7 separate regions of the Homo sapiens genome follow, and regions 2, 3, 4, 5, 6 and 7 are each linked to region 1. The links are contacts of gene promoters, found by promoter capture Hi-C in blood cells and fetal thymus (Javierre and others, 2016). All regions are on one chromosome and are shown on one strand. The core of a region is centred on a gene start or on the middle of the fragment in contact, and the rest is flanking DNA. Distances in the headings are between cores, read along the strand shown.

What was found. Contacts are between HindIII fragments. The CHiCAGO score rates a contact against its expected background, and 5 or more counts as called.
Region 2: a contact is called between a fragment that was not itself captured here and the fragment with the promoter of PGRMC2 in region 1, in 4 of 17 cell types (neutrophils, total CD4 T cells, M2 macrophages and 1 more). The highest score is 11.3, in neutrophils.
Region 3: a fragment that was not itself captured here is called in contact with the fragment with the promoter of PGRMC2 in region 1 in 2 of 17 cell types (M1 macrophages and monocytes); the score reaches 5.3 in M1 macrophages.
Region 4: a contact is called between a fragment that was not itself captured here and the fragment with the promoter of PGRMC2 in region 1, in 16 of 17 cell types (naive B cells, total B cells, non-activated CD4 T cells and 13 more). The highest score is 28.9, in naive B cells.
Region 5: a fragment that was not itself captured here is called in contact with the fragment with the promoter of PGRMC2 in region 1 in 1 of 17 cell types (neutrophils); the score reaches 5.9 in neutrophils.
Region 6: a contact is called between a fragment that was not itself captured here and the fragment with the promoter of PGRMC2 in region 1, in 1 of 17 cell types (fetal thymus). The highest score is 6.1, in fetal thymus.
Region 7: a fragment that was not itself captured here is called in contact with the fragment with the promoter of PGRMC2 in region 1 in 10 of 17 cell types (neutrophils, fetal thymus, total CD4 T cells and 7 more); the score reaches 13.2 in neutrophils.

The regions. Positions count from the first base shown.
Region 1 is chr4:128,286,498-128,289,197 of GRCh38, reverse strand. PGRMC2 (progesterone receptor membrane component 2) reads left to right here and starts at 1,385. Exons shown (of 3, transcript NM_006320.6): 1 at 1,385-1,825. The coding sequence starts at 1,408. RefSeq lists silencers at 90-384, 756-945, 1,266-1,445, 1,456-1,505, 1,686-1,745. The HindIII fragment of the contact is 4,970 bases long and covers 1-2,700 here.
Region 2 is chr4:128,949,919-128,952,618 of GRCh38, reverse strand. All of the region lies in intron 14 of SCLT1 (sodium channel and clathrin linker 1), which reads left to right. Among named protein-coding and RNA genes, the nearest start is that of JADE1, 140 kb to the right of the region's middle. The HindIII fragment of the contact is 2,437 bases long and covers 204-2,640 here.
Region 3 is chr4:129,037,734-129,040,433 of GRCh38, reverse strand. It overlaps SCLT1 (sodium channel and clathrin linker 1), which reads left to right. Exons shown (of 21, transcript NM_144643.4): 5 at 1,338-1,393. Among named protein-coding and RNA genes, the nearest start is that of SCLT1, 54 kb to the left of the region's middle. The HindIII fragment of the contact is 1,814 bases long and covers 397-2,210 here.
Region 4 is chr4:129,097,424-129,100,123 of GRCh38, reverse strand. The region is part of intron 1 of C4orf33 (chromosome 4 open reading frame 33); the gene reads right to left. Among named protein-coding and RNA genes, the nearest start is that of C4orf33, 2.6 kb to the right of the region's middle. The HindIII fragment of the contact is 2,806 bases long and covers 1-2,694 here.
Region 5 is chr4:129,115,469-129,118,168 of GRCh38, reverse strand. C4orf33 (chromosome 4 open reading frame 33) reads right to left here. Exons shown (of 6, transcript NM_001099783.2): 6 at 1,532-2,700. Among named protein-coding and RNA genes, the nearest start is that of C4orf33, 21 kb to the right of the region's middle. The HindIII fragment of the contact is 5,561 bases long and covers 1-2,700 here.
Region 6 is chr4:129,060,964-129,063,663 of GRCh38, reverse strand. All of the region lies in intron 2 of SCLT1 (sodium channel and clathrin linker 1), which reads left to right. Among named protein-coding and RNA genes, the nearest start is that of SCLT1, 31 kb to the left of the region's middle. The HindIII fragment of the contact is 666 bases long and covers 1,046-1,711 here.
Region 7 is chr4:129,078,209-129,080,908 of GRCh38, reverse strand. The region is part of intron 2 of SCLT1 (sodium channel and clathrin linker 1); the gene reads left to right. Among named protein-coding and RNA genes, the nearest start is that of SCLT1, 14 kb to the left of the region's middle. The HindIII fragment of the contact is 5,094 bases long and covers 1-2,700 here.

The sequences.
Region 1 (2,700 bases), core at 136-2,635:
TGAGTAGTTAAGGCAGAGACTTAAAATATGATCGGGCCCTTTACAAAAAATGTTTGCCAACCCCTGCTCTAATGTCTCCCCTAGCTCTGAGTCTCCTCACCTCACGCACAAATACCCTAGCCTACTAACTGCTTTCCCACTCTTTCCCCAGCCTCTAATCCTTCAGACACCTGGTTGCTATACAGCCTCTCTACAAGAGTGTCGACCCTGTCACTTGCCTCGTCAATATCCTCAGTGACTCCTACAAAACCGACAGTGAAAGGTTCAAACCTATTCTATGAGACTCAAGACAACAGACAACAAAGGGCAAGAGAGAACACGTCAAACGAGTTCGTCAAACGAGTTGAGTGCGTGAGACTTCAGAGGTCACTTTTTCACACTAGAATTTCAAGGTGTGAGAGGCTAAAAGACGTCCAAGTACATGAAACAGAACCTGCAAATAAGAGTGAATGACGAATAGAAAGACCACCTCAACCTGTCCACTTCCCTACGGCCGCAGAAGTTATGATTCAAGGAATAATGAGACTCTAAATCCTTTAAAATTCTACAAGAGCAGCCTTTGCCAAACCCAGCGGGGAGTGGCTGCTCGGTGCCAGCGCGAGGAGCACGTAGACTGCCGATGCCAGAGAAGCCCGGTGCGGGTTCCGTGCTTTCTCTCCGTTCCAGGAAGACCCCAGCTCGTGGCCAAATCTTCTTGCCGCTTCCCGGTCTGCGCGCCTACGCTGCCGGTTTCCCGACAAAAGCGACGGCGCCCTGGTGAAAAGCAGACGCCCCTCATCGGTTTGCGCCTTGCAGCTCAACTATGCCCCAGCCTCCCACAAGCCACCTGCCCGCGTCCTCCGCCAGGCGTCCAGCCCGGACCTGCCCCCGCGGCCGCCAAGGCGCACGTGAAGCTCCCGGGCGGGGGGAGCGCAAGGAGGCGGGAGTTTGCGGACGCGAACGCAGGCCTAGGAAGGGAAGCGATTCCAGGGCGCACGCGCAGAGCCTGGAGACTGGGCGGGGCGTGCCTCCCGCAGGGGTTACGAACGAAAGGCGAGCGCGTGGCGCTCAGGAGCCCGCGCACGCGCTGTGGTCTCGCCCCGCCCATGAGCGTCCGCGCGGCCGTCGTAGCATCTTTTCTTCAGACCCGCCCGGCTCGTCTACTTAACCTAGCGGAGGCTTGGAGTGAGAGCAGGGAAGTGTGGGGCGAGGTGGGCGGGGCGTTGCACGCGTGCGCGGCCAGCGAAAGAAGGGAGGGGGCGGGAGATCCGAGACAACGTTACCCCGTCAACACCCAATCAGGAGCCGGCCTGACCCCGCCCCCTCTTCTCACGTTATTGGCTGAGAGGCCCCCAGATGGGCGGGGCCGGCCGTGGGGTTGGGGAGGGCAGGGGGCGGGGAGGAGGAGGAAGGCGCTGGCGGGCAGTGATGGCGGCTGGTGATGGGGACGTGAAGCTAGGCACCCTGGGGAGTGGCAGCGAGAGCAGCAACGACGGCGGCAGCGAGAGTCCAGGCGACGCGGGAGCGGCAGCGGAAGGGGGAGGCTGGGCGGCGGCGGCGTTGGCGCTTCTGACGGGGGGCGGGGAAATGCTGCTGAACGTGGCGCTGGTGGCTCTGGTGCTGCTGGGGGCCTACCGGCTGTGGGTGCGCTGGGGGCGGCGGGGTCTGGGGGCCGGGGCCGGGGCGGGCGAGGAGAGCCCCGCCACCTCTCTGCCTCGCATGAAGAAGCGGGACTTCAGCTTGGAGCAGCTGCGCCAGTACGACGGCTCCCGCAACCCGCGCATCCTGCTCGCGGTCAATGGGAAAGTCTTCGACGTGACCAAAGGCAGCAAGTTCTACGGCCCGGGTGAGGAGTTGGAAGGGGAGGGGAAGGACCCCCTGCAGCTGAAGCACAACCCCCTTCGGACAGGGAGGCCTCTGGGCACCGGGTTAGTTTGCCCAGCCTTCTCGTCTCCGGGACCCCCGCGCCTCGGCCGCCGCACCTGGGACGGCCCATCCCGCCCCTACACACACACCGTCCCCCCGCAGCTACGGGCACCTCCAGTTCTTCCCCCGAAACCAGGGTCCCCGGTGGCGCCCCAGAGACCAGCTCTCAGCATTCATCTTTCTTCCATCCCATTTCTCCTCGCAGCCTTTTTTTTTTGTTTCTTTGGCTGGATTTTTCAAAATCGTTTTAGTTGTCACAGGTCAACGCTGGCCCTTAACCTTTTTTGAGTCTCCTGATTCCTGGGATGGATGGGGCACCAGGGAAGGGAGATTTCTGAAGTTGGGACCTAAACTAAAGTTTTGGGCTCTGTAATTCACCGTTTTCTTTTCCTTGCCCCCTTTTTTTTTTTTTTTGCCACTGATCTCCTTTTTTCCCTCGCTGTATTACTCCGTAAGGCCACGTTTAGGGGCATGTAAAGTCCCAACCCTCCAGTCTCTGAAGTCCAGACGTATAAGCAACACCTCGGACTCTCTTTAAACCAGTTTTAGTTCGGAGTTGCTTTCCATGATTAACAAGGTATGTGGGATGAGAACAGACCAGAATGCAGAGCTTATTAAAGACTGGTAAGGATATTCACCTTGAGTTTTGGGGGTGGAGCTCCTATACCCAGCAGGCGTGTCTCTGGTTTCTTTTTTCTTTTTTTTTCTCTTTTCAAGTACACGTTGATAATGACTTGTGTTTTCACTTAGCAGAACTAAGGAGAAAAAACTTAGAAGAGTTGTAGATTTATACCC
Region 2 (2,700 bases), core at 173-2,672, 660 kb before region 1:
GTTTGCAGCAGCCTTGTGGCTTATGTTCTAGCAGGAAAGATAGATGGCATTTATCACATTTTACTGTAACTACCTGTCTTTGACAGAGAATGCACAGGATGCTATTGCTAGCTGTAGCTCCTATCATATGCTGAGTTTATCTGGGAAACCAAGGAGAAAGAGAAAGTATATATAACAGTGGGAAGGAAGAAATACAGAAAGCTTCCTGAAAGAAATGAATACTGAGGAATGAGTAGGCCAAGAGGGGAGAGGAAAAGAATACTTGTGTGGCTAGAGGTGAGATTGGAAATAGAAGTTTAACTTGAAGATTTGATGTAATGAAATTTAATAACCTTGCTTATAGGAGAATAAAAGTATAACAATTTTCAAGAATTGAGAAAATGTTTATAACTTCACAAACTTTCATCTTTTCTGACTCCCTGTATCACTTTTTATCTCTGTTACAAAATTTAGCAATGAATCATATCTTGTAATAACTATCATGCTTTAGGTGTATGTTGAGCATACACACTCTGTCTCTCTCCATGAAAATCTTACCTCTGCAATTAGATTGTAAGCATCTCAACATAGTAGAGTCTTACGCCTTCCTTTATTTTCCCTGTTGCTTGCCTAGTACAGTGTTTTGCAGAGTATATTTTTAAATGTTTATCAACTGAATGGTATATTTAAACACTCTGAAAGAGGGATCACATTTTCTTTCGCCATTCTACAAACTTTGGAGAGCACATGACGGGATCTTAATCATTGTGTATTGGTCCCAAATGTAATAGAACAAGGAATATTTATTTTGTATTTGTTTGTTTAATGTCACTTATTTTAATAATGTAGGAACATCAAGTAAAATTAGTGAGATGCAATGTGGCCAGTTAGTGACATGTAATTTTTTGTTGTTGTGGAGTTTTGCTTCCTTTTCTATCACCCAGTTATTTTGCTTGTTTTCTTTCATGGGCTGATTAGCTATCAAGAGATTCGTATCTTTGTGGAAAAAGAGGAGTAGAAGGGTACTACCCCAGTCCAAGATCATTTAATGGATGGTAAACTCTGCAAGGGCATGAATATTCATTCTTTCTGTATTCTCAAGGGAACAAGGACTGGCTAAGACTTCCAGGGATTTTTCAAATCGTTGTTAGCTGTGTAACAACCAGAGCTATATTAAACTCACTTTAGAGTAAAAAGAATGACAATTTCAGTTTATTGCAAAAAGTGTTTCTTATAGTAAAACAATTCTACTTCATAGCTAAGTGATTTTTCTAAAGATATGAAACATCTCATAGTCATGTTGATTCTATGGGGAGAACTATACTGTGTAATTGAAAAGTTTGAAGTATTATGTTAAAAATATGTTCAAAGGAAAACATATTTGGCTACTTTAAGACAGATTTTCTCAAAAAATCTAAGCTACAGTTTGAAGCATAATAACCTGATGCTTGCTATTGTTTTCTATTATTAACAATTTTACTATCTAGACTAATAGTATTAGTATAATATACTATCCATCTATACTATTTATTTACACTATGAAGTCCAGGAAGGAAGTTATGCATACTTTTGCTGATCCAAAAGTAAGGTATGCTCACAGGAAGGAGAAAAATTTGTATTTTAGATGAGTGTGCAGATTATTTAATAGATTAAGAAAAAGCCGGAGCCATTACATTTCAAGCTACATATCTCCCTTTGGAGACCAACACGTACCTAACAGCCTTTGTTTTCTCTGGTAAGGTGTAGTTTATCTTAAGAATATTCAAGGTTTTATTCTGCCATGTAGCAGATTGCTATTAATCTATATCAAATAAGAAAATTAATTATAAAATGTTCAAACTTACAAAAGTAACATAAAATGTTCATTATGATCTTTTCTTTGATGGATGAATTTTTTGGAAGTCTTTTTTTTAGTTTCTAAATACATGAGGATTTACACTGTCTTTTATTGTTGATTTCTCATTTGGTTAGGTCGGCAGCACAGATCATGGTCTATATGGTTGGTTCTTAATATGTATTGAGACTTCTTTTATAGAGTATTATTTTGGAAATACTCCATGAGTACCTGAAAAAATATCTATTATTTTGTCATATTTTCCCCCAAAGGTAGGCATGTCAGTGGTGATAAGCAAATATCTCTAAAAACTTTGTAATAGTAATTTTTAATGTTTGCTTTAGTATTATAGTGCATTTCTACTAGAATTAGTATGGTAATTCTCTCTAAAGGCTTAAACTTTGCTGTCTCATTTTACCTTTTTTACCCCCAGGTTAACCAAATATTCTTTAGGCCATCATCATTTGTCAGTGAAATGGTGGATTGGGTGGAGAGGGATATGAAGCATACTTACACATGCATTTCTTTATATACCACTTGCCAGCCCCAGAAGTGTGAGCCAGACTTTGTTATTAACATATATATTAAAAATCACATGGGAGGAGTTACGAATGTAGGTAAAATCCCAAATTTAGCACTGAAACTACCCTCTCCTAGATAAGCAACTTACTATATGAATATGTGGAATATTAATGTTGCATTTTGTATACACTCAGGGTTCTATCTTAATAAAAGATATTAAATTTAAATTTGTCAACTGATTTGTAACAGGTTTAAAGATCTTCATTATCATCAATGGTGATTAATTTTGGGTCACAAAAGAAGCTTACTTTAAAATTTAAAAACATATTGAAATACACTTCTTCTATAAAATAATTGAACATCAT
Region 3 (2,700 bases), core at 54-2,553, 750 kb before region 1:
CACCTTAGGAGACAGAGTGAGACCCCATCTTAGGGGAAAAAATTATTTAAAAACTATAAAATTAAGATAATGGCTACAATAAATCCAAACCTCTTGCCATGGCATTCTTAAAACCCTGTACCTGTCTTTCCAATTTTATCTCTCACTGTATCAGTCCATATATGGTCAGTGCTCAATTATCTGGTAGTGAATTAATCCATGTTGGTTTAATTGTGTTTCAGGCATAACGAGGACCTTGGAAAAGTTCACCTTTCAAACCAAATTTATAGTTAGAATTTGCTATTCTGATCTCCTAGACCAAGCTTCCTTGATCTTCTCGGTTGAAAGAGAGAGAAAAAGGCTGGCAGAACTGCCTGTTCCACCTGGCCCTTGCGAAAGTGTACTCCAGGATAAGCTTCTCTCCTTTAGCTTAGGAAGCACAATCAAGACTAATACACAATCATGAATTAGTTACCGTTTTAAGTGAGATTTTGCATGCTTTTACATGTAAATTCAGGGTTTTGTGTGTGTGTGTGTGTGTGTGTGTGTGTGTGCGCGCGCGCACACTCTCCATTTGCTCATTCACACTTACTGAGAGTTGACTACTTATTTTTTGCTATTTTGCTTTTACTCATATTTTCGCCAACTTTAAATGCTTTCTTTTCTTTTGAAATCCTAACATCTTTTTACTCCTTCAGAGAACGTTAATCAGACCTTCATTTAATTCCCTTTCTGGTGTGCATTTTATTCTGCCTTGTATTTTAGTTAGGATTTTTTTTAACCATCTTTCCTACTATTTTTCAATGAGCATGTCTGTTTACCTTAGCGCCTTGTATGGTACGGAGAGTTTAGATAGTTAATGAAGGTGGTGAATCAGAAACTGAATGAATGACTGCTAAAAAAGACCTCCATTTTCTTCTTTACTGTTAGCATTTTACCTTTTGAAATACTAGAAAAATATACATACTTATATGGGCTTCACCTAAACTGAGGTGAATTAACTAAGATATACATTCAAGATACAGGAACCATCTGGTATTTGTTATAGTGACATACTCCAGAATATCTTTCATCTGTTTTTCACAACTACAAGTCATAGGAATTACATTTATAAACATTTCTCACCATGTTACATAAAATATTTCTATTTTATTTATATTCTACTTAAAATGAATGTTTTATTGTGTTCTGTTTATTAGTAAATTATCCATATTAATTATCCCTTTGTTATAAATAAAGAATAAGTCTTTCTTATCTGTAAACTAGTGTCAGAATCTGATTGCTTACGTGAGTGGTCTACTTAATGGAGATCTGATTGTCTGCAAAATGTATTGCCACACCATATTTTATTCTTTCAGAAACAGGTGGGTGAGATGAAATTACAACTTGAAAATGTCATCAAGGAAAATGAAAGGTAAATCAATTAACTATTGGTTTTATCTTTTATTATTGTCTTAGGTAACTTTTATTTTTGTTATTTGATATTTGATAGCTATAGTATTAATAGTTAAGAATGTGGACCCCGGGGCTGATTTTCTATTTGACTCCTGGCTCGATTACTTGTTAGCTGTGTGACCCTGGACAGGTTACTTCCCTTTCTGCTTTAGTGTCCTCTTCTATAAATCAGAGATAATAATAGAACCTATTTCATAGGGCTGACTGTAAGGGATAAAGTAAGTACTTGGAGTAGCATACAAAATAATCACCTTACCAATATTAGCAATCAATAATGTAGTATATAATATATATGTATGTTAGAAAACATATTGATAAAATGAAAACTTTTCAGCCTACCACTCAGCTTGAATGTTAAAATGTTGCCAGTGCTGGTGCATCTATCCATGTTTTTCTTCCATTTCCCATCCTTCTCTTTCTCTCTGCCAGAGATAAACACTATCTTGAATTTTGTGTTTATCATTCCCTTGCTTTTACAGTTTTTTTATAGGTATGTGTATCTCCAAGCGATATACTTTTTAGTTTTACATTTTTAAAGACTGTATAAAAACGGTATCATCTAGTGTTCTAGGACTTACTTTTTTATTCAATAACATACACAAGTGCAAGAGTTTCAAGGAAGGAAGTTGCTGGATTATAGGTTATATGAATATCAATTTTGCAATATAATATCAACTTAATTTCCAAAATAGGTGTACCAATTTACATTCTTACCAGTGATATTTATGAGTTTATATTGATCTATATCTTTTAATACCTGTAGCTCTTGTTAAGCTTAATTTTCATCATTTTGACTGTTAAATACTTTTTTATTGTTGTTTTAATTTGCATTTTCCTGAATACTAATATTGTTGACTTTTTTTTTTGAGACAGAGTCTTGCTCTGTCTCCCAGGCTGGAGTGCAGTGGTGCGATCTCGGCTCACTGCAAGCTCCGCCTCCCGGATTCGTGCCATTCTCCTGCCTCAGCCTCCCCAGTAGCTGGGACTACAGGTGCCCGTCACCACGCCCATCTAATTTTTTTTGTATTTTCAGTAGAGACGGGGTTTCACCATATTAGCCAGGATGGTCTCGATTTCTTGACCTCATGATCTGCCCGCCTCAGCCTCCCATTGTTGACCATTTTTATATGTTTATTTACCTATGTGGTTTTCTTTTCTCATAAAATGCTTGTTCATATATTTTCCCCATTTCTACTTATCTTGTTCTTATTAAATTGCCAAAGTGCATATGTGATCTGTATTCTGAAAATTTGTTGATGTGCTGGT
Region 4 (2,700 bases), core at 42-2,541, 810 kb before region 1:
CTACTGGTTCCTTCTGCTTTTCCCCCCTAAGGTTTCTTTGAGCATTATTTGAAAATTACTGCAAAAAATAGTGACTAGACTTCCACAAGTAGGGAATAGTGCATGGCTGATCAGTCCAAAGACAGAATATAATTTTGGCTTTAATTGCATAAACAACTTTCGTTTCTTATTGCAATGACAAATTTGTTTTTTTTTTTAAACTTTATATCGCTTAAAGAACACTGACGTCAATCTAAGAATGCATAATATTTATAAAAATTAACCTAAAAAGTATAGTCCGTCCTGCCCAGTAGTTAACAGTCTAGTTTAAAACTAACATAAACTAGAGACAGATGATTCTCCCTCTGTAATCTTCTGAGATTTAACCCCCACAACCTTTCAATTTCTTTGTATTTGAACATGTGTTCATTAAGTAAAGACAACTTAATTGTCAATGTCCTTCACCTCTTGGGCTAGCGCTCCCCTCCTGGTCATTCTCTATTAACCTATACACTGCTCTATTTCTATTCTTACATGGCAATTACATGGCATTACATATTTGTTTATTGACTCCCTGAACCCAGCTAGAATGCCTATAAGTGATGGTTACTATTTATTTGTTGAGTGAATAATTTTTCTAGTCCCTGGATCTAACACTCTAGATTTTGTGCAGGAGAAATCTACTGTGTTCGTGGTATCATCATCTCATTTAACACTACATATCAGATCAATACAATGGCTAATAACAAAGATAATAAGCCCAGAAATTCCCTTCAATTTAGTTTATCAAGCATTTATTAAGCACTCATCTTATTTCAGGTACCATACCAGGTGCTGGGGAAATAATATATAATAAGTCTACAGGAGTTTGGGATGGTTCTCATGTAACTAATCAATGAGGTACCCGTTTCCAACATCAGTTGGTTCATTTTGCAGTCCAATTTAATTCAGTGGGATCCTTATACCAAAGTAAGTTTTAGATGAATCAAAGATTTAAACATAAAAATCAAAATCATATAAAAACAGGAAATAAAAAGAGAGTTAAATAAAATCTTATAGTAGTAAGGTAGGAGATGAGCTGGGCTTGTTTTCTGAGCACCAAGGTCCCACTGATTGAAACAGAATCTTATCAAAACAAGATGCAGCAAAGAAACTGGCCACAACCAGCTAAAACCAAGATGGCAACAAAAGTGATCTCTAGTTGCCCTCACTGCTCATTATACATTAATTATAATGCAGTAGCATGCAAAAAAAAACTCCCAACAGTGGCATGACAGTTTACAAATGCCATGGCAACTCCTAGAAGTTACCTTATATGGTTTAAAAAAGGGAGGAACTCTCAGTTCTGGGAACCCTTCCTACTTTTCTGGAAAATGCATGAATAACCCACCCCTTATTTAGCATATAACCAGGGAATTGTATGTATACAGCTGGCCAACAATTCATGGGAGCTGCTGCTCCTACTCTGTCTATGGAGCAGCCATTTTCCTGTAGTTTGTTGCTCTGATAAACTTGCTTTAGCTTGTGAATCCTTTCCTGCATGAAGCCAAGAACTCTCCTGGGCTGAGCCCCAAATCTGGGCTTTCCCTGCATTAGTAGAGAAAACCTTTTAAAATACAAACCAAAACCCAAACATTTTACTACATAAATATAGCAAAACTAACATGGATGCAGCTGGAGGCTATTATTCTAAGCAAATTCATGAAAGTACAGAAAACCAAATACCACATATTTTCACTTATAAGTGGAAATTAAACAGTAGGTACTCATGGACATAAAGATGGCAACAACAGACACTGGGGACTACTAGAGGGGGGAGGGAAGAAAGGGGCAAGGGTTGAAAAACTAACTACTGGGTACTATGCTCACTACCCAGGTGATAGGATCATTCGTACCTCAAATCTCAGCATCATGCAATATAACCATGTGACAAACCCGCACATATATACCCTGGATCTAAAATAAAAGTTGAATTTTTTTAATAATAGATAAATAATAGTAAAAAAGCAAAAACCTCCTTCCCAAGTTCCCTTTACTCCAAAAGCCTATCATTAACAAAATCAAAAGTCTGGGGAAAAGTATATGCAATTCATACTTGATACAAATAACTAATTTCTTTAATGCACAAAGAGCTCCTAGAAATCAATAAGGAAAAGACCAACACTCCAACAGAAAAGTGACCAAAAATTATGAACAGCCAGTTCACGGAGAGAAAATGCAAAATGTTCACTTATAATGACAGAAATGCAAACTAAAACCACAATAAATTACCATTTTTCACTTAGATTGGCAAGGATCAGAAAGTCTGACAACAAGCTGTGTTAATGAAGGCATTGAGAAAAAAATCATTTATTGCTAGTGAGGCATAATTGATATAGCCTCTGTGAAGAGCAATACGTCAATATCTATCAAAATAAAAATGCAACTATCCTTTGACAAAAATAAGTCTAGTTCTAGGAGTTACTATACCTGCACATATTCAAAATGACATAAGCGTTGAGGATATTTGTGGTAGCATTGTTCATAATAACAAAATGTTGGAAGCAACTTAAATACCCATCAGTAGAGGACTGGTAAAAAAAATTATGCTATACCATACAATGAAACACTGTATAACTGCTAAAATGAATGAGGCAGCTCTGAATTAACATCTATGCTAAAATATGTTGTGAAGTGAAAAAAAGCAAGGTGCATTTATTTAATAAAAAGGAAGCTTATTTG
Region 5 (2,700 bases), core at 197-2,696, 830 kb before region 1:
ACAGACAAGTGGCTGCTTCGTTGGCTCAGGGGCATGTCCACTGGGGACAGCCCATGGGGCTGTTTCTCAGGTCTGGGACATAGGCTCTTGGCTGCTTGGCTAGCCTAGGGATGTGTCCACCTATTTTTCAGGTCCTTATTGGGAGCACAGGGCCAGTGGGAAGGCCCAGGGGTGTGTTTGTGGTGGGGTTAGGGGAGGATGTGAGGGTGCAGGGCTGTTTCTCAGGTTCTGAGTGTGGGCACATAGCCGACTCCACTGGGTGTATCAGCTGCTCGGATGTTCAGAGACCTCTCCCACTTGGAAGAAGGCATGCAGCAGTTTGGCTGGCTCGAGGGCAGGTTCGTCCTGGGAAGGACTGGTATACGGTTCCTCCTGCCTTAAGCAGGGGTGGGGGTTGGTTTCTCTGCCATACAAGACCAGAGTCATAGCCAATCCTGAGCCCAGACTCCCCACAGCTGGGTTGTGAGGTTCAATCATCCATGTGGGTTTGGCATAATGAAGATGGAGCCCCAGTGCTGGAAAAGCACAGTGGCTACTGACCTCAGAGCAAGACACACTCCAGAGATGGCTCAGGTCTCAAGATGGCACCATGCTGCAGCAGCTTGGCTCACAGTGGGTGAGTAGGGGTGGGGAGTATACACCTTGTACTACTAATCCAGTGCAACACAGCTGCATAAATTCCCTGCAGCTCTCCAAGATGGACTCGGGGCTTACAGGAACTATGGGATTCTTCTGTTTAAGGACTATAGGTGTTTGCGGTGGCTATGGGGCTGGGGGACAGTGGGGATCTCCTGCTTATCCTTTTCCCACATGTGAAGTCTCTCCTGACTCCAGGTATATCTGATCCAGGCAGAGAAGATGAAGCTGCAGACAACAGGTACCTCCACCTTACCCTCGTAGACTTCCAATCACTACTCCTCCATCACACTCCAGCACTCTCCCTTCAACACCGTAGTCAAAATCTTAGCTGTTTATTCATTGCCTTGGTCCTCTATTGTGGTGGGAATGAATGCCAGGTGTTTCTAGTCAGCCATCTTGCTGACATCACTCTCAATAGCTTTATTTTGTAGATGAGTAATGAAGACTAAGAAAGGCAGCAGCATAGTAAATAAGTGCCTTCTCTTGAGAATCAAATTCCCTGGGTTCAAATCTGCTACTTCTTAACTGTATGATCTTGGGCAAGATACTTAACTCTGTAGGTCTTAGTTTCATTAACTTTAAAAATAAGCATTCCAAGAGTATCTGACTTTCTTTGAGATTGCTGTAAAAAGTAAGGGTAAAGTTCTTAATATAGTTTCTGAAAAAATAATAAGTATTCAATAAGTATTAGATATTTCAATGAGGCCACTTGCACTAGGTCAGGCAGCTAAAAGGAAAGCCCAGTCTATTGTGGGAGTATAAGACATTTGGTGTTTCTGCTGTGTATGCCAAAGCATACTAATGATATTTAGTGATATTAATGATATTAATAATATCACTAACTAATATTATCTTTTTGCCATTTTTCAAAAAACTAATTCAAAAACATACGTTTGTTTTTAGCATAATTTTTATTTCTCTGAATGCTCAGACTTCAATTTACAGTTTGGTTTTCTATTTCAGCAAAGCTATCTCTTCAAAATATATACTCTAGGTACTGCAGTGCTTTAGGGCATTATTACAAACATGGGCTTTCAGTGTACTATTGAGTCAGAAATGCTGTTTAACGGAAATTACAGGTGATAGGCTGCCAAAAGAAAATAAATTTTTACTAAACCTTGCATTCTCTGCGAATTTTTCAAGAGTGCAAAGTAAAAAATTTACAGAACACCCAAAGCTCTCTCAGGAGCCAGTGATGTAGCTATATATTATTTCATTGTAATTCAAATAAGTAGTAAAGTGAAATGTCATTTGACAGCATTTCCTATTTCTCCTTTATATTACATATTAGATTTATAAATATCAGACAAAAATTTACTCGTAGATCCCATTACATGGAAAAGAATATTTTAATTACTGGTTATTTATTATGAAATAAAATAAAATATGCACAGACACCCCTCACTTTTCATAGATTCATGATTTCTGGCTTCCTATATTCCTCATACATGTGTCATCTTAGCTTCAGAGGTAACTCTTTTTACTATTCCTTCCATGAAAAATGATAGTTGGTAAAAAATAGAGTTACAATAGTCAATTTTATAAGTTTTGCTCTTTCAGAGCAAATTAAGATAAGAAATTATCAGAAAATGAGTAGGGCCCAGGAATGGTGATTTAACAAAAAATATGCTACACACATACACAGCACATTTTATGCTCTCTCTCTATATATATATGTTATATATAAACATATATATTTTATATATATATATATATATATATATATATTTAGTTAGAAGATTTGTTAGGCACATATTCCTCTTGGACTTAGGTGCCTTAGGCTGGATACCCCTTCTACCCCTGACAAAAGCAGAGGGTTGTGTGCAGTGCATTAATTTTGGAATGTGATTCTAAGGAATGGGATTGGGAACTTTGGAAAAATTAAATAAAGCAAGCCAATCTAAGATTGCATTTTTAAGCTGATCAGTACTGTAGGTAACTGAAGACCCTAGTGGAGTCCTACTGGAGACCACTAAGGAACTATACAGAATGCACTTCAGAATTGTCTGCCCAAGGGACGGAAAAGGGGAGTATTTATCCACTGAATCCTGTCCCTATTGT
Region 6 (2,700 bases), core at 129-2,628, 770 kb before region 1:
CTGCTTGGGATGCCTAACCTGTGGTGTACCACCACACCAGCTGGCCCACAGGTGATTCCAACTCTTCATATGCATTACTGCCCTCCTTCCCCATGGCTGGCTGTCATGTGCACCCCCTAGATGGGGAATGCAAGCACAGTCAGCTGGCACAACTCTTTGGGATTTAGAGAATGCACACAAACTTGAGCATTTCAGGGCACTACCCCCACAAAAAAAACATGGGATATTCTCAACACCCAGCCTAGTTTAATGGGATCCAAAGAAAGCATATAGTCTTAGGAATTCTCCCTAAACGGTAATGGCTGAAGGTATGGAGTGGGTACATCTATTGAAAATGTCTAAGAGAAGCTTGGTGAAGCTGTTTGTTTCCCAAAGCCAGTCAGTAAAGACCGCAGGAGGTGACTGCTTCATATGTTAAGATGGCAACGTAAGACTGATTCAGATGTTAAGATAGCAACGTAATACAGTTAATGAAATGAAAAGTGCAATAGAGAGCTTTAGCATTACACTTGATCAATTAGAAGAAATAATCTGTGAACTTGAAAGCAGGTCATTTGAAATTACCCAGTCAGACAAGAAAAAAAGAAGATTGAAAAGTAATTAAGAAAGCTTAAGATATTTATGAGACATTGTCAAAAGAAGTGATACACAGATTGTGAGAGTCTCAGAAGGAGGAGAGAGAAAAAAAGAAGCACAAAGCTTAAAGAAATGATGTCTGAAAAATTCCCAAATCTTGGGAGACGTCTGGACGTCAGACATAAGACCCAAGGGTTCCCAAACAGATTCACCCAAAGATGACTTTACTCAGGCACATTATAATCAAATTGTCAAAAATCAAAGACAGTTAATTCTAAAAGCAGCAAGAGAAAAGGACTTATAACATACAAAGGAACTTCCGTAGGCAATCAATGGATTTCTCAACAGATACCTTACAGATCAGGAGACAGTGGGATGGTATATTGAAAGTACTGATAGAAAAAAAAAGTCAACCAAGAATGCTTTACCCAACAAGACTACCCTTCAGAAATGTAGGAGAGATAAAGCTTTTCCTAGACAAGCAAAAGCTGAGGGAGTTCATCACCACTAGCCCCAATTTACAAAAGATGCTAAAGAGTTCTTGAAGCTGAAGCAAAGTGATACTACTTATTAAAATATTGAAACATGAAACTATCAACTCATTGATAAAAGTAAGTTTATAGTCAAGAATATTCTGACACTGTAATGGTGGTGTATAAATCACTTTTACCTCTTCTACAAAGGTTAAAAGAGAAAAAGTGACATCTGCAAGATAGCCAAGTAGAAGACTCTAGCAATTGTTCCCCTCACAAAGATAGCCAGAACAACATATAACTTCATTTTAACAAAAATAACCGAGAGTGAGTGCCAGAGTGCATCAGAGGAGTAACAGAAACCCAAGTGGGCACAGAAACTCAAAATGGCCATGTAGAAAATGGAAGGAAATGACGGGCTTCCATTACACCAACCCCCAACTGGGACCAGCTAGGAACAAGGAGGAATTTCTCTCTACTTGGGAAAGGTAAGCAGGAGGATCTCAGCAGCCTGCATTAACTCCTTGGACCTTGCCACTGGGGTCCCCTGCATTAACTCCTACGGACCTCGCCACTGGGGTGGCTGCGAGTTAATGCAGCCTGCATTAACTCCTACAGACCTCGCCACTGGGGTCCCCTGCAATCCTCAAAGTCACTAAGCTTATCTGAGGGAGCAACCTAGAGTCCACATAACCAGGAACTAACACTGTACCCTGACACCTGAGGCTTATGCAACTAGTGTGCTATGCACTGTGGAATTGAAATTGCAATTGGAGTGTGCCTTGCTCTGGGGGCAAGTAGCTCCCCTTCATTAACTGAGGCTAAGCAGCTTTTCAGCCACCTCATCTCAGTGGTTCAGCATCTCAAGACTGAGCTGTGAGAAACTGTTACACCCTTCCCTGTGGGCCAGGCAGAGGTGGAACTACTCTACCTTCCCCTCACCCCATCCACGCCCCCACCACCAGACTGGACCCAAAGTGGTACCCTGTCTCCTATGAGAACAGCACCTTAGCCACTCAGAGCAATCACATCTCCTCAATGCCTCAATTTGAAGCAGCATCCCACATTCTAGCAAAATGGTGTTTAGACCACTCAGAATGCTCATTGTCCCCAGGATTGATCTGAAGTATGCTATCACCTTCTGGGAAATTGCTGCCCTGTCAGACCTGAGTTGCTTATCCCAAGGAAACATCAGTGACTAAGCTGAAACACCCCACCCTACAGGCCAGACATCTCATACCCTGCTTCCCTGGAGCTGGACTAGCCCCTAGAGTCTGTGCTGCAGAGACACATTTCTTTCTAGGGAGTGGATTAATTGTTGGGCTATTCTGATGCCCCCAAAGCTGGAAAGACAACTGTACTTTGCCATTCTGGGAAACTTGCTGCCGCGCATCTGCCCTCACAGAAAGTAAGATACAGATAAGCCTTACCATCCTAGGGTCTATAGTCACCACTACATGGTGTCTTATCCCCTGGTATCTGAGATGCCACTGAACTCTACTGGCTCAAGTTGCTTACTTCTAGGTATACTCTGCTTCTCAGGCACAAATCTCCAGAGTACCTTTTCTTCTCAGGAGTTGGGCCAGTGCTGTGCCCTGCCCCCACCCAGGGATAGAACCACAAGTACAACGCAGCCCTTCAGCCCAAGTGG
Region 7 (2,700 bases), core at 2-2,501, 790 kb before region 1:
AACTCATCTGGCACCCCAGAAACTCTCTCTCCCACAGACTGCAGAACTATGAGCCAACTAAACCTTTTTTTCTTTATAAATTACCCAGTCTCAGATGTTTCTTTATAGGAGTGTGAGAATGGACTGATATAGAAAATTTGTACCAGTGAATGGGCATTGGTATAAAGATACCTGAAAATGTGGAAGTGACTTTGGAACTGCATAATGGGCAGAGGTTGGAACAGTTTGGAGAACCCAGAAGAAGACAGGAAGATGAAGGAAAGTTTGGAACTTCCAAGAGACTTGTTGAATGGTTGTGACCAAAATGCTCATAGTGATACGGATAGTGAAGTCTAGGCTGAGGAGGCCTCAGATGGAGAAGAGGAGCTTACTGGGAACTAGTGTAAAGGTCACTCTTGCCATGTTGTAGAAAGAGACTGGCAGCTTTGTGCCCCTGCTCTAAGGATCTGTGGAACTTTGAACCTGAGAGAGATGATTTAGGGTATTTGGCAGGAAACTTTCCAAGCAAGAAAGCACTCAAGATGTAGCCTGGCTGCTTTTAACAGTGTAAGTTCATATGTGTTTGCAAAGAGATGGTCTGAAACTGGAACTTATATTTAGAAGGGAAGTAGAGCATAATAGTTTGGAAAGTTTACAGCCTGACCATGTGATAGAAAAGAAAAACCCATTTTCTAGGGAGAAATTGAAGCTGGCTGCAGAAATTTGCATAAGTAAAGAGGAGCTGAATGCCCAAGACAATAAAGATGCCTCAAAGGCATTTTGGTGATGTTCACCACAGCCCCTACCATCACAGGCCTGGAGACATAGGAGGGAAGAATGATTTTGTGGGGGCAGGCCCAGGGCCCCACTGCCCTGTACAACCTCAGGACATTGCTCCCTGGTCCCAGCTGCTTCAGCTCCAGCTGTGGCTAAAAGGGCCCCAGATAACATCGCAGTCAACTGCTCCAGAGGGTGGAACCCATAAATCTTGGCAGCTTCCACATGGTATTAAGCCTGTGGGTGCACAGAGGGCAAGAGTTGAGGCCTGGGAGCTTCTGCCTGGATTTCAGAGGATATATGGAAATGCCTGGATGTCCACACAGAAGCCTGCTGCAGGGGCGCAGCCCTCATGGAGAACCTCTGCTAGGGCAGTGCAAAGAGGAAATGTAGGGTTGGAGCCCCCACACAGAATCCACACTGGACACTGCCTAGTGGGGCTGTGAGAAGGGAGCTACCATCCTCCGGACCAAAGAATTGTAGGTCCACCAACAGCTTGCACTATGTGCCTGGAAAAGCCTCAGGCACTCAATGCCAGACTGTGAAAGCAGCTGCAGGGAATGTACCCTGCAGAGCAACAGAGGCAGAGCTGCCCAAGGCTGTGGGAGCCCACCCCTTGCATCAGTGTTGCCTAGATGTGAGACATGGAGTCAAAGGAGATTATTTTGGGCCCCTAAGGTTTAATGACTGCCCTTCTGGGTTTTGGACATGCCCCGCGGCCTGTAGACCCTGTCTTTTGATCAATGTCTCCCTTTTGGAAAGGGAGTATTTACCCAATTCTATACCTTCATTGTATCTTGGAAGTAACTAACTTGTTTTTTATTTCACAGGGTCATAGGCAGAAGGGTCTTGTCTTGTCTCAGATGAGACTTTGGACTGTGGACTTTTGAGTTAATGCTGAAATGAGTTAAGACTTGGGGGACTGTTGAGGAGGGACGATTGTATTTTCCAGTGTGAGGATATGAGATTTGGGAAGGGCCGAGGGTGGAGTGACACACTTTGGATTTGTGTCCCTGCCCAAATCTAATGTCGAATGGTAATCACCAGTGTTGGAGGAGAGCCCTGGTGGGAGGTGATTGTATCATGGGGGTGAATTTTCTCCTTGCTGTTCCCCTGATAGTGAGTGAGTTCTCATGAAATCTGCTTGCTTATAAATGGGTAGTACCTCCCCATTTTCTCTCTTCCTCCTGCTCCAGTCATGTAAGATGTGCCTTCTTTCCCTTCACCTTCTGCATTCTGAAAGTTTCCTGAGGCCTCCCCAGCCAGGCTTCCTGTACAGCCTGTGGAACAATTAGCCAATTAAACCTCTTTTCTTGATAAATCACCCAGTCTTATGTATTTCCTTATAGCAGTGCAAGAATGGACTAATGCAGAACTAAAATTATTTTCAAGGTATTAAAAGTGAAGAGCTTGTTTTTAGTATTAAAAAGGAATAGTTTATTTGGTTGGCTTGAGTACTTATTCTTATAGATATTTTTTAATGTATATTCAATATTTAGCTGACTGCTCTATGCTTTTATTTCCAAAGACCAGATTCAGAGTCCACAGAGTCTTGAAGCTATCCATTCACTATTTGCTGTTATAACCATATTATTTTTATTATAATATATAATTTTTATGCATACTTAATAACTGTAATAATTTAAGTGATAGAGAATCTTTCATATTCCAACAGCCTTTAAGTTTTGCTCAGAATCTTAAGATTTTTGCTTCTGTTTAGTGTCTTGTGGAATAGGCCTGAACAAAAGAGTAAAAAAAAATTTTTATTTTAAAGCCCCAGATGACTCTGGCCACGGTAATGCATCATATCTGTGGAAAGCTATGGTTGACTTGATTATGAAAGATGTTTTTAACAGATAGCATAATGGTGACTCTAGCCTTTCAGATGCACCTGCATTATGCATTGTGATTATACTAATTAAAGCTCAAGAGTAGCAGACCTAG